Linked DNA regions of Homo sapiens: all the other regions are linked to region 1. Evidence: promoter capture Hi-C in human tissues and cell types (Jung and others, 2019). All regions are on one chromosome and are shown on one strand. Each heading gives the region's core, a stretch centred on a gene start or on the middle of the fragment in contact. The rest is flanking DNA. Distances are from core to core; before and after follow the strand shown.

Evidence for each region. Contacts are between HindIII fragments. The study calls those that stand out against the background at their distance.
Region 2: a contact is called between a fragment that was not itself captured here and the fragment with the promoter of CAMSAP1 in region 1, in 1 of the 25 tissues and cell types used here (mesendoderm cells).
Region 3: a contact is called between a fragment that was not itself captured here and the fragment with the promoter of CAMSAP1 in region 1, in 2 of the 25 tissues and cell types used here (IMR-90 fibroblasts and dorsolateral prefrontal cortex).

Annotation. Positions count from the first base shown.
Region 1 is chr9:135,906,208-135,909,063 of GRCh38, reverse strand. It overlaps CAMSAP1 (calmodulin regulated spectrin associated protein 1), which reads left to right and starts at 1,518. Exons shown (of 17, transcript NM_015447.4): 1 at 1,518-2,064. The coding sequence starts at 1,905. It overlaps CAMSAP1-DT (CAMSAP1 divergent transcript), which reads right to left and starts at 1,231. Exons shown (of 2, transcript XR_007061860.1): 1 at 145-1,231. RefSeq lists silencers at 950-1,629, 1,670-1,779, 1,860-1,929, 2,330-2,379. The HindIII fragment of the contact is 39,877 bases long and covers 1-2,856 here.
Region 2 is chr9:135,712,316-135,715,126 of GRCh38, reverse strand. It overlaps KCNT1 (potassium sodium-activated channel subfamily T member 1), which reads right to left. Exons shown (of 31, transcript NM_020822.3): 2 at 407-550. Among named protein-coding and RNA genes, the nearest start is that of KCNT1, 12 kb to the right of the region's middle. The HindIII fragment of the contact is 6,055 bases long and covers 1-2,811 here.
Region 3 is chr9:136,160,545-136,163,423 of GRCh38, reverse strand. No RefSeq gene overlaps it. Among named protein-coding and RNA genes, the nearest start is that of TMEM250, 43 kb to the right of the region's middle. The HindIII fragment of the contact is 7,426 bases long and covers 1-2,879 here.

The sequences.
Region 1 (2,856 bases), core at 269-2,768:
GAATGACCCTTTTAAAGGGTTAGTCATATCCTTCCGTGTGCTCAGTCTTCCGAAGGCTGCCCATTTCCTGCAGAGAAGGGGCCACAGTTCTGACTGTGCAGGACCTGTCTGCATCCCTCCATGTCCCCACCTCCCATTTCCTACCAGTCCTTCCAGCTCCTGCGTTCTCGACTTAGTGGCCTCTACTGTGTTTCTTACACTCCAGGCTCTCGTGTCTCAGAGGCTCTGTCTGCCGTGCTCCTTGCTCAAGACAGTACTTCTGCAGATATCCTTACCCTCGACGCCCACGTCCCGCCGGTCTTTGCTCAAATAAGTGCCCTCCTCCTATGGCTTTCCTTGACCGCTCTGCCCTGTCCACCTCGTGTTCTTTTCAGACGGCTGACTCAAGAAAAAATAGACAATCTCAACAGACCTATAACAAGTGAAGAGACTCAATTAGTAACCAAAAAACTATGAATCAAATAAGTCATCAAAAAAGCCCAGGCCCAAATGGCTTCAAGGTTGAATTGAAGCCTGCACGTGGGTTGGTATGTGAATGACGGACTGCCTGGGTCCTCTGGGCACCTGGCATTTCATACATGTTCCGCCTCTGGCACGGGGTGTCTCGACCAGGTACAGACAGGCTGGGAGCCCCGCGCCGGGCGCCCGCTCCCTGGAAGCTCGACCTCTCCCTGCCGTCAAGGCGCCGGTGGGCGGCACGTGGGCCGGCTCTCCCGGGGGCAGTTCTCTATTTCGCTGGTGAGGTTCTCAGACCAAATCCTCGGAATGCAAACTCTCACGGCGTTCCCGTAATTCTCAGCCCAGCGCGGGCCCCGACGCAGGCTCCAGGGGAACGAAGTCAGCGTCCCTTCCGGGGGATGCGCCGGCGGGGCCGCACCTGTTTCTGCCTCAGGGGTCCAAACGCCCACCTTCCCTGCACCGGGACGGGGGTCTGGAGACTGGCACGTCCACCTGGTGCCCGTCTGCTGGGCTGTCGCCTGCCGAGGTCGCCGCCGGCCACACCCACGAGGTCCCCAGGGCGCCGGCGGCGAGACCTCGGCCGGCCAGGGGGCCGGGCTGTGGCTGAGGTGGGACGAGCCAGGGCCGGGGAGGAGACACGGCGCTAAAAGAGGGCAGCTGCGGGCTCGGCAGGATCCCCGCCGCCGACCCACTCCACCCACCCCGCGCCGCCCACTCCCCGCTGCCTACGCCGCGCTCCACACCGCGGGCCTTAGAGCCTGAGGAAAGCAACGGGGCAGGCGCGGACCAGGGCGGGTCCTACTGCGCCTGCGGAAGCGGGCGGGGAGGGGCGGGTCGACGCTCACTGCGCCTGCGGAAAGGGGCGGGGCAGGCACAGGCCTGCGGGTGCCACCTACTGCGCCTGCGGAAAGGGGCGGGGCGGGCGCGGGCTGGCGGGCGGTGCCTACTGCGCCTGCGGAAAGGGGCGGGGCAGGCGCGAGAAGGGAGCGGAGCTGGGGGCGGGGTCGAGGGCGGGGTGGCGGGCGGTGCCTACTGCGCCTGTGCGAGGCCCCGGCGGTGAGCGCGCTCCCGCTCCTTGGCCACCGCCTCAGCCGCTGTCGCCGCCGCCGCCGCTCACCCGGGACCGCGCACGCGCTGCCACCGCCCCCGGCCCGCTCCCGCCCCCGCGCCCGCCCCCGCCCCCGGCCCGCGCCCTCCTGCCGCCGCCTCTTTGGGCCGCGGGCTCGGCACCTCCTCCGCTCGGGCTCAGCGCCCGCAGCATGCAGCAGCCGCGGGGGCGGCGACGGCGGCGGCTGTGAGGTGAGGCGGGGGCCGCGCTCGGGCGCCCCTCCCGGCTGGCCGGCTGCGGGGCCGAGTGGTGGCTCGGGGCGCACCGGGCCCGGCGCGGCGAGGGGCGGCGGCGCCTTTGTTGCGGCCGGGCCGCCGCCTCAGCCCTTTGTCTGCAGATGGTGGACGCGAGCGGCCGCGCCGCCGCCGAGGGCTGGAGGAAGATGGAGGCCCCGCCGGACGGCGCCGCCGACCTCGTGCCCCTGGACCGCTACGACGCGGCGCGCGCCAAGATCGCCGCCAACCTGCAGTGGATCTGCGCCAAGGCCTACGGCCGAGGTGGGCCGGGTGAGGGGCGCGGGGCGGGGGCCAGGGGCGCGGGCCGGGGCCGGGGGACGCGGCCGGGGTCCGGCCGGGTCGGGGTCCGCGCGCCGCGCCTTTGTGCCGCGTCCGCACAGGGTCGGGGCTGGGCCGGCCGCCTCCGAGGTCCTGGCGGCGCCCGGGCAACGCGGAGCGTGGGGACGCGGTCACCTGGCGAGTGGGCGTCCCTGCGGCGGAGGGCGGCGTGGGTCGGGGCTTCCGCTCCTATTTCGGGAGTGCCCCCAGCCTCCCGTTGGCGGCGGCGGCGGCGGGAAGGAGCTGCCCGGTTCTGGGCGCAGGGAGGGACCATGGGGACGCGGGGCCGCCGTCTGAGGCGCCGCTTCCCGGCGCGCCGGGCATCGTCCAGTGCTGGACCTGTGATTCCGAGCCTTGCACTTGTTATGAATTTTGATGCTTACAAGCTGTCAGCTGTTGAATTCCCCAACTAGAAATTGCGTATTCCGCGCATTGTGCTTAATCATAATGATCCCCTTTGGTTAATTCCTGTTTGGAAGAACTAGGTAACCTTGTTACTCAGTCCAGTTTGTTAGGCCCTAATGTGCTTAGTGGATTAAGACGCTTCTGTTTCGTGCCCTGGGAACAGGACAGACCTAGTGATTCTCGTCAGTGGCTGACTTCTTTATTAATTTCAGGTGCTTTGTTTCAGGTACAATTAAAGGTTAATATTTCTGCAATCCTCTTTTCATTTGAAGCATTCTTAAAATATTTGCCTTTATTCTGGTGAAAAATTACCCTTTTTAGAGTAAGACT
Region 2 (2,811 bases), core at 156-2,655, 190 kb after region 1:
TGCCTGAGCCTGGAGGACGCCAGCCCTCAGCCAGGCTGCGGGCTCCGCCACCGGGGCGCTTCCGGCCCTGGCTTGCCCCCAAAACCAGAAAAACTGGGGTGCTGGGGGTTGGGAGCAGACACCGGAAGGCCAGGCCGCCCTCCGCCTCCGCGCCCCAAGTCGGGCTCTGGAAGACTCCGCAGCTCCGAGCATCCCGCGCCCTCCTCCGGAGACCCCCTCCCGAGAAGATGCTTCCCCCTGCCCGCACCCCCTCCGAAACTTCTGCGTCCCCAGAAGCCGGGAAAAGTTGAAGGGCGCCGGCGGCTGCGGGGGCGCGCGGGACCGGCCGTCAGCACCGCGGACAGCTCCGGGCGTGCGGCGGCGCCGGGACGGCGACCCCAGCCCCCACCCCGCGCCCGGTCCCTACCTGTCGTCGTTCTGGAAGGACGGGTCGCCCAGCAGCAGGTCCCGGAAGCGGTAGCGCGGCGGCAAGGGCAGCACCTCGGAGTCCAGGTCGCTCATCTTGAAGCCGGCGGTGTCCAGGAGCGCGCCGTCCCCCGCGCAGGGCCGCCTGCGGGCACACGCCAGCGCCCCTCAGCCCGCGTCGGGCGCCCTCGCGGACGCGCGCAGCCCCCGGCCCGCCAGGCCCGGCCCGCGCAGCGCAGCCCGCGGCCACCGCGACCCACCGGGCGGGCGGGCGGCCGGGCGGGGGCGGGCCTGGCGGCACATGCGGGCGGGGGCGCGCGGGACCGGCTGCGCCGGGCTGGGGCTAGGGCGGGGGCTGCGCAGGGGCAGGGGGCGGGGCTCCCTCCAAAGCGGCCCCGGGGCCTGGCAGGAGGTAAGGGGGACGGGAGCTGTCATGGCCAGCTCAGGGACAGGCGCGCACCACTCCTCCCTGATCCCCCAAGAGCCAGGATGGAGGCCCTCCCCCTGCTCTGAAGCCCCGCCACACCCCTGCAACCCCTCCCAACTCCCCAGCTCCCCTCCCCGTCCCCAGGGTCTTTGCCGAGGCCGGCTGCTCAATCTTCCTTCAGGGTCCAGCCCCAGAGACCCCCGTCTCAGACCCTCAGGCTGTTGAGGGGTGAGGGTGGAGTGACCAGGAGGCCTAAGAAGACACCCTTGTTTGCAGCCTCCCCAGGCGGAGCAGCTCAGCTCAGGTCAGAACCCCGGGGGGCTGCCAGGCCCTCTGGGCCCTGAGCTGCCCTGCCACTGTCACCAGGTGAGGGATCAAAGGGACACAGAGAGCTGGCAGCGCAGGTTAGGGGCATCGTGGCACACCAGGTAGAGTGGGAGGACCCCTGGTGGTCTGCAGTTCTTGGGGGCCCAAGCAGGTGTCTTCCAGGGGTCTTGCATCTTTCCTGTCCCCATGTCCCCCACTGAAGTGAGTTTTGGCTGCTCCAGGAGAAGCAGGAGCTGAGGGGCAGGGAGCTCCTTACCTGGCCCAGGCCGGCCCTTGTTCAAGGCTTCGAGGCCAGCAGGAGAGCAGAGGGGGGATGGAGGGGGCTGGCTCCCCCACGGGCAGGGGCAGGAGGCTCTGACCATACCCAGCTCCCCGTGCTGTGCCCGTAGGCCCTGCACAGAGGCCACTCATTTGGAACACCAGGTCCAGGGATGCTACAAAACTCTCCTCTCTCTCCTCAAGTCGGGAGGGGTGGGCACATTCCTTGAGCCCCCACCAAGTGCCTCTCCTGTGTCCCCTAACCCTCAGACAAGCAGCAGGCAAGGAGCTATGGGCACCCCAGGCTGAAGCTGCAGGCAGCAGGTGCGTGCCCCAAACCCTGCTCCTTGTTCTGAGGTCACAGGTTCAACCCCCAGGATCTGGCAGCATTTAAAAAATAACATTTTCCTAACTGCATCAGCGTAGCTGCATGTTTTTCCTTAGTCACAAGCTGGCTGGGCCATGGGGAGGTGCAGGCAGGCAGGGGAACCACGTGGCCAGGGGTCGGGGCTCTATTTTCTTGATTTTGTGCCTTCCTCACTGAAAGCCCCTTTCAATGGCAAAACCCCAAGAGACTGCCGGCTCCTCAGGCGTGGCTGCCTCCTCCCGTCCCCACCCCGTCTGCCTTTTGAGCGGCTCTGGTTCCTCCTCCTGGCCTCAAGGCCCAGTCTTGGCAGGGCCCATGGACAAGCTCAGGGGCTTGGACCTTGGCTTGCTTCAGGAGTCACCAGGGGAAGGAAGTGCACCAGGAGTCCAGAGACCTGGCCCCACCCCTGCTCCCCAGATGTGGCCTGGGGAGGGTGACAAGGACAAGATGCCCTTCTTCCCTTGGGAAGCTGCTTTGACACTTGAGCGAGCACACGGCCATAAGCAGGTGTCCTGCAGGCCTCCTGGCATCCTGCCTTGTTCCCCCCACAGAGCCAGAAACCTTGAAAATACTTCGCTGTTGTGTTGGCTGAGGGCCGGGGCTAAAATCCTTGGCTGTTGTGTTGGCTGAGGGCTGGGACTGAGGGCCGGGGCTACAGGGTCTCTGGGAAAGGGGCCCATCGCAGGAGGACAGCAGCAAAACAGCTGCTCCCCGTGTCCTCGGGGTCTGGTTGAGACTTTTCGCAAGCAGGAAGGCCTACATCGGCCAGCTTTTTTGGGCACAGGGGGAGAGGGGAGTGTTGGGGGGTCTGGTCCCTGTTGAAGCTGGTTCAGGTGGAACTGGAACATAACCCTGGCATAGCCAGACACGGGGACCCTGGGGCCCACCTCGAATTCTGCACCCCCTCTTCTCTTGCGCTGTCCTCCCTGTGTGACCCAAGGGGCCCTGGAGGAAATCTAGGACCCCCAAGGCCACATCCATGATCTTTTTATTTTCTGAGTGACTGCTGTGCCAAATAATTACCAAT
Region 3 (2,879 bases), core at 366-2,865, 250 kb before region 1:
TTCAGTCATAAAAAAAATGGAATTTTGACACATACTACAACATGAATAAACCTTGAGGACATTTGTTGAGTGAAATAAACCTGTCACAAAAAGACAAATACTGTGTGATTCCACGTACATGAGGTATCTAGAGGAATCAAAATCATAGAGACAGAAAGCAGAACAGTGGTTATTAGGAACTGGGAAAGGAGAGAATGGGGCTTTCGTGTGATGATCACAGGGTTTAGTTTGGGGGATAAAAAGTGTTGAAAATAGTGGTAGTAGTTGCACAAAAATGTGAAGGTATTAAATGCCACTGAATTACACACTTAAAAAGGTTAAAATGGCAAATGTTATGTTATATATGTTTTGCCTCAATTTTTAAAAATTAATGTAATATATCAAAACCCACTGAATTACACAATTTAAATGGGTGAATTATACGGTATGAGAATTATAACTCAATCAAGCTGTTTTTTAAAGTCAATGATTGTTAGAATCTTTTTTTTTTTTTTGAGATGGAGGCTCACTCTGTCACCCAGGCCGGAGTGCAGTGGTGTGATCTTGGCTCACTGCAACTTCTGTCTCCCAGGTTCAAGTGATTCTCCTGCCTCAGCCTCCTGAGTAGCTGGGACTACAGGTGCGAGCCACCACACCCGGCTAATTTTTTTTTTTTTTGAGACAGAGTCTCACTCTGTCGCCCAGGCTGGAATGCAGTGGCCTGATCTCGGCTCACTGCAAGCTCCACCTCCCGGGTTCACGCCATTCTCCTGCCTCAGCCTCCCGAGTAGCTGGGACTACAGGCACCCACCACCACGCCCGGCTAATTTTTTGTATTTTTAGCAGAGACAGGGTTTCACCATGTTAGCCAGGATGGTCTCAATCTCCTGACCTCGTGATACGCCCATCTCGGCCTCCCAAAGTGCTGGGATTACAGGCGGTGAGCCACCGCGCCCAGCCAATTTTTGTTTTTTTAGTAGAGATGGGGTTTCACCATATTGGCCAGGCTGTTCTCAAACTCCTGACCTCAGCCTCCCAAAATGCTGGGATTACAGGCATGAGCCACTGGACCTGGCCAGAATCTATTTTAAAAATCATCCAGTAGGCACTGTGTACCAGGCACTGTTCTAGACACTGAAGATTGAGCAGGGAACAAAAGCCAGCTTGGCCCTTCTAGAGCCCACCTGCTGGAGGTGGGATGGGCAATAAGCAGGGAATGGAAGGGAGGGAGGGAGGGGGCTCCCTGGAGGGCTGGGTGGGCCTCGCTAAATGGGACCCTATGACTAGGAGGGACCCCATGGGCACCAGGGAGAGACAGGGCAGCCAAGGGGGCCTCCAGGCAGAGGCTGCTGGGCTGGCACCTGCATGGACATGTCATTTATAAAGAAATAGCATCCCAGACTGGCATGGTGGCTCACGCTGGTAATCCTGGCACTTTGAGAGGCCGAGGTGGGTCAGTCGCTTGAGCCCAGGATTTCAGGACCAGCCTGGACCACATGGCAATACCTCAAGTCTATGAAAAATACAGAAATAGCCGGTGTGGTGGCTCCTGCCTGTAGTCCCAGCTAATCAGGAGGCTGAGGTGGGAGGATCGCTTGAGCCCAGGAGGTGGAGGTTGCAGTGAGCCGTGATCACACCTCTGCACTCTAGCCTGAGCGACAGAGCCAGACCCTGTTTCCAAAGAAAGGGAAGGGAAAGGGAGGGAAGGGGCAAGGAGGGGAGGGAAGGGACAGCATCCCCAAAAGGTCTGGAGAAAAGCGAAACCACTCAGGGTTTTATGCTACAGCCCATCCCCTGAGTTTCTGTAGCTGTGACAAATATATTTTTGAAAAAGAGAAGGAGTATTGAATAACTTGGGAAAATGTCTGTTGCATTTGGGTAAAAAAACGGGAGTTTTTTTACACTGCCAGTGTCAATGTGTGCCAAAGCACAGCAAGCGCGCACACACCACATATGCACACATGCCATGTACACACACACAGGTGCACATAACATCACATACACTCATGTACAGACACACATACCACGCACACCACACACATATGCACACACCCACACACATATGCACACACACATGCACACACACATATGCACACACACACATACATCTGTCATCTCCCCTGCAGATGAGGGGTTGAGGCCCGGGCAATGTGACGACCACTTGCCCAGGACTGGTAGAACTCTGTGGTGCCCTCTGGGGCAGTCCCCTCCCACCAGGCTGCCTCCTGATGGTTTCTCCCATGGTTGACTCGGCCCCAGAGGTCTGGTGACATCTCCCTCTCACCATGCTGAGTTCCTCGGATGACTGCAGCTGTGGCTGAGCAGTGAGGCCCCTGCCCAGGACCCTGGCCTGGCCCAGACTGTGTCCCCATGTCAGGGCATGTAAACAGCAAGGGCTTGGCCCGTGCCCTCAATGCTCTGAGCCCGCTGTCTCAGGAACAAATTAGAATCTCACTCGAATCCTCATAAATCTTCCATTCCTGACAAATCCAAAGGAAGATGGGGGAGAGGGGCAGGGGGGAGGGGAAGGAGCCAGGGTCCCTCGCTAATTTCTCCAAACTGCTGTTTATTGAAATGAGACACCAGGGATAAGCAAGAGCTGGATCAATAAAGGCCTGTCTAATACAATCAGCCGGGGCCGCCAGCTTCCCGCCCCTCCTTCCAGGGAACACCAGAGGCGAGGGGCCTGAGGAGCGCAGCCCAGGCCTCCCCGCTCCTGGGAACCTCCCCTCCCACACTGCCCTGTAGAAGCCGTTCACCTGCAGACACAGCCCACATCATGTTCCTGCAGCTGCTTCTCCAAGGCTGCCCCTCAGCTGGCCCGGCCTTCCCTGCAGGTGTCTGCTCCCTAGGGAGAGCCATAGGGGCCGGCTCATGGAGAGCAGGGCCCCACCCAGGCC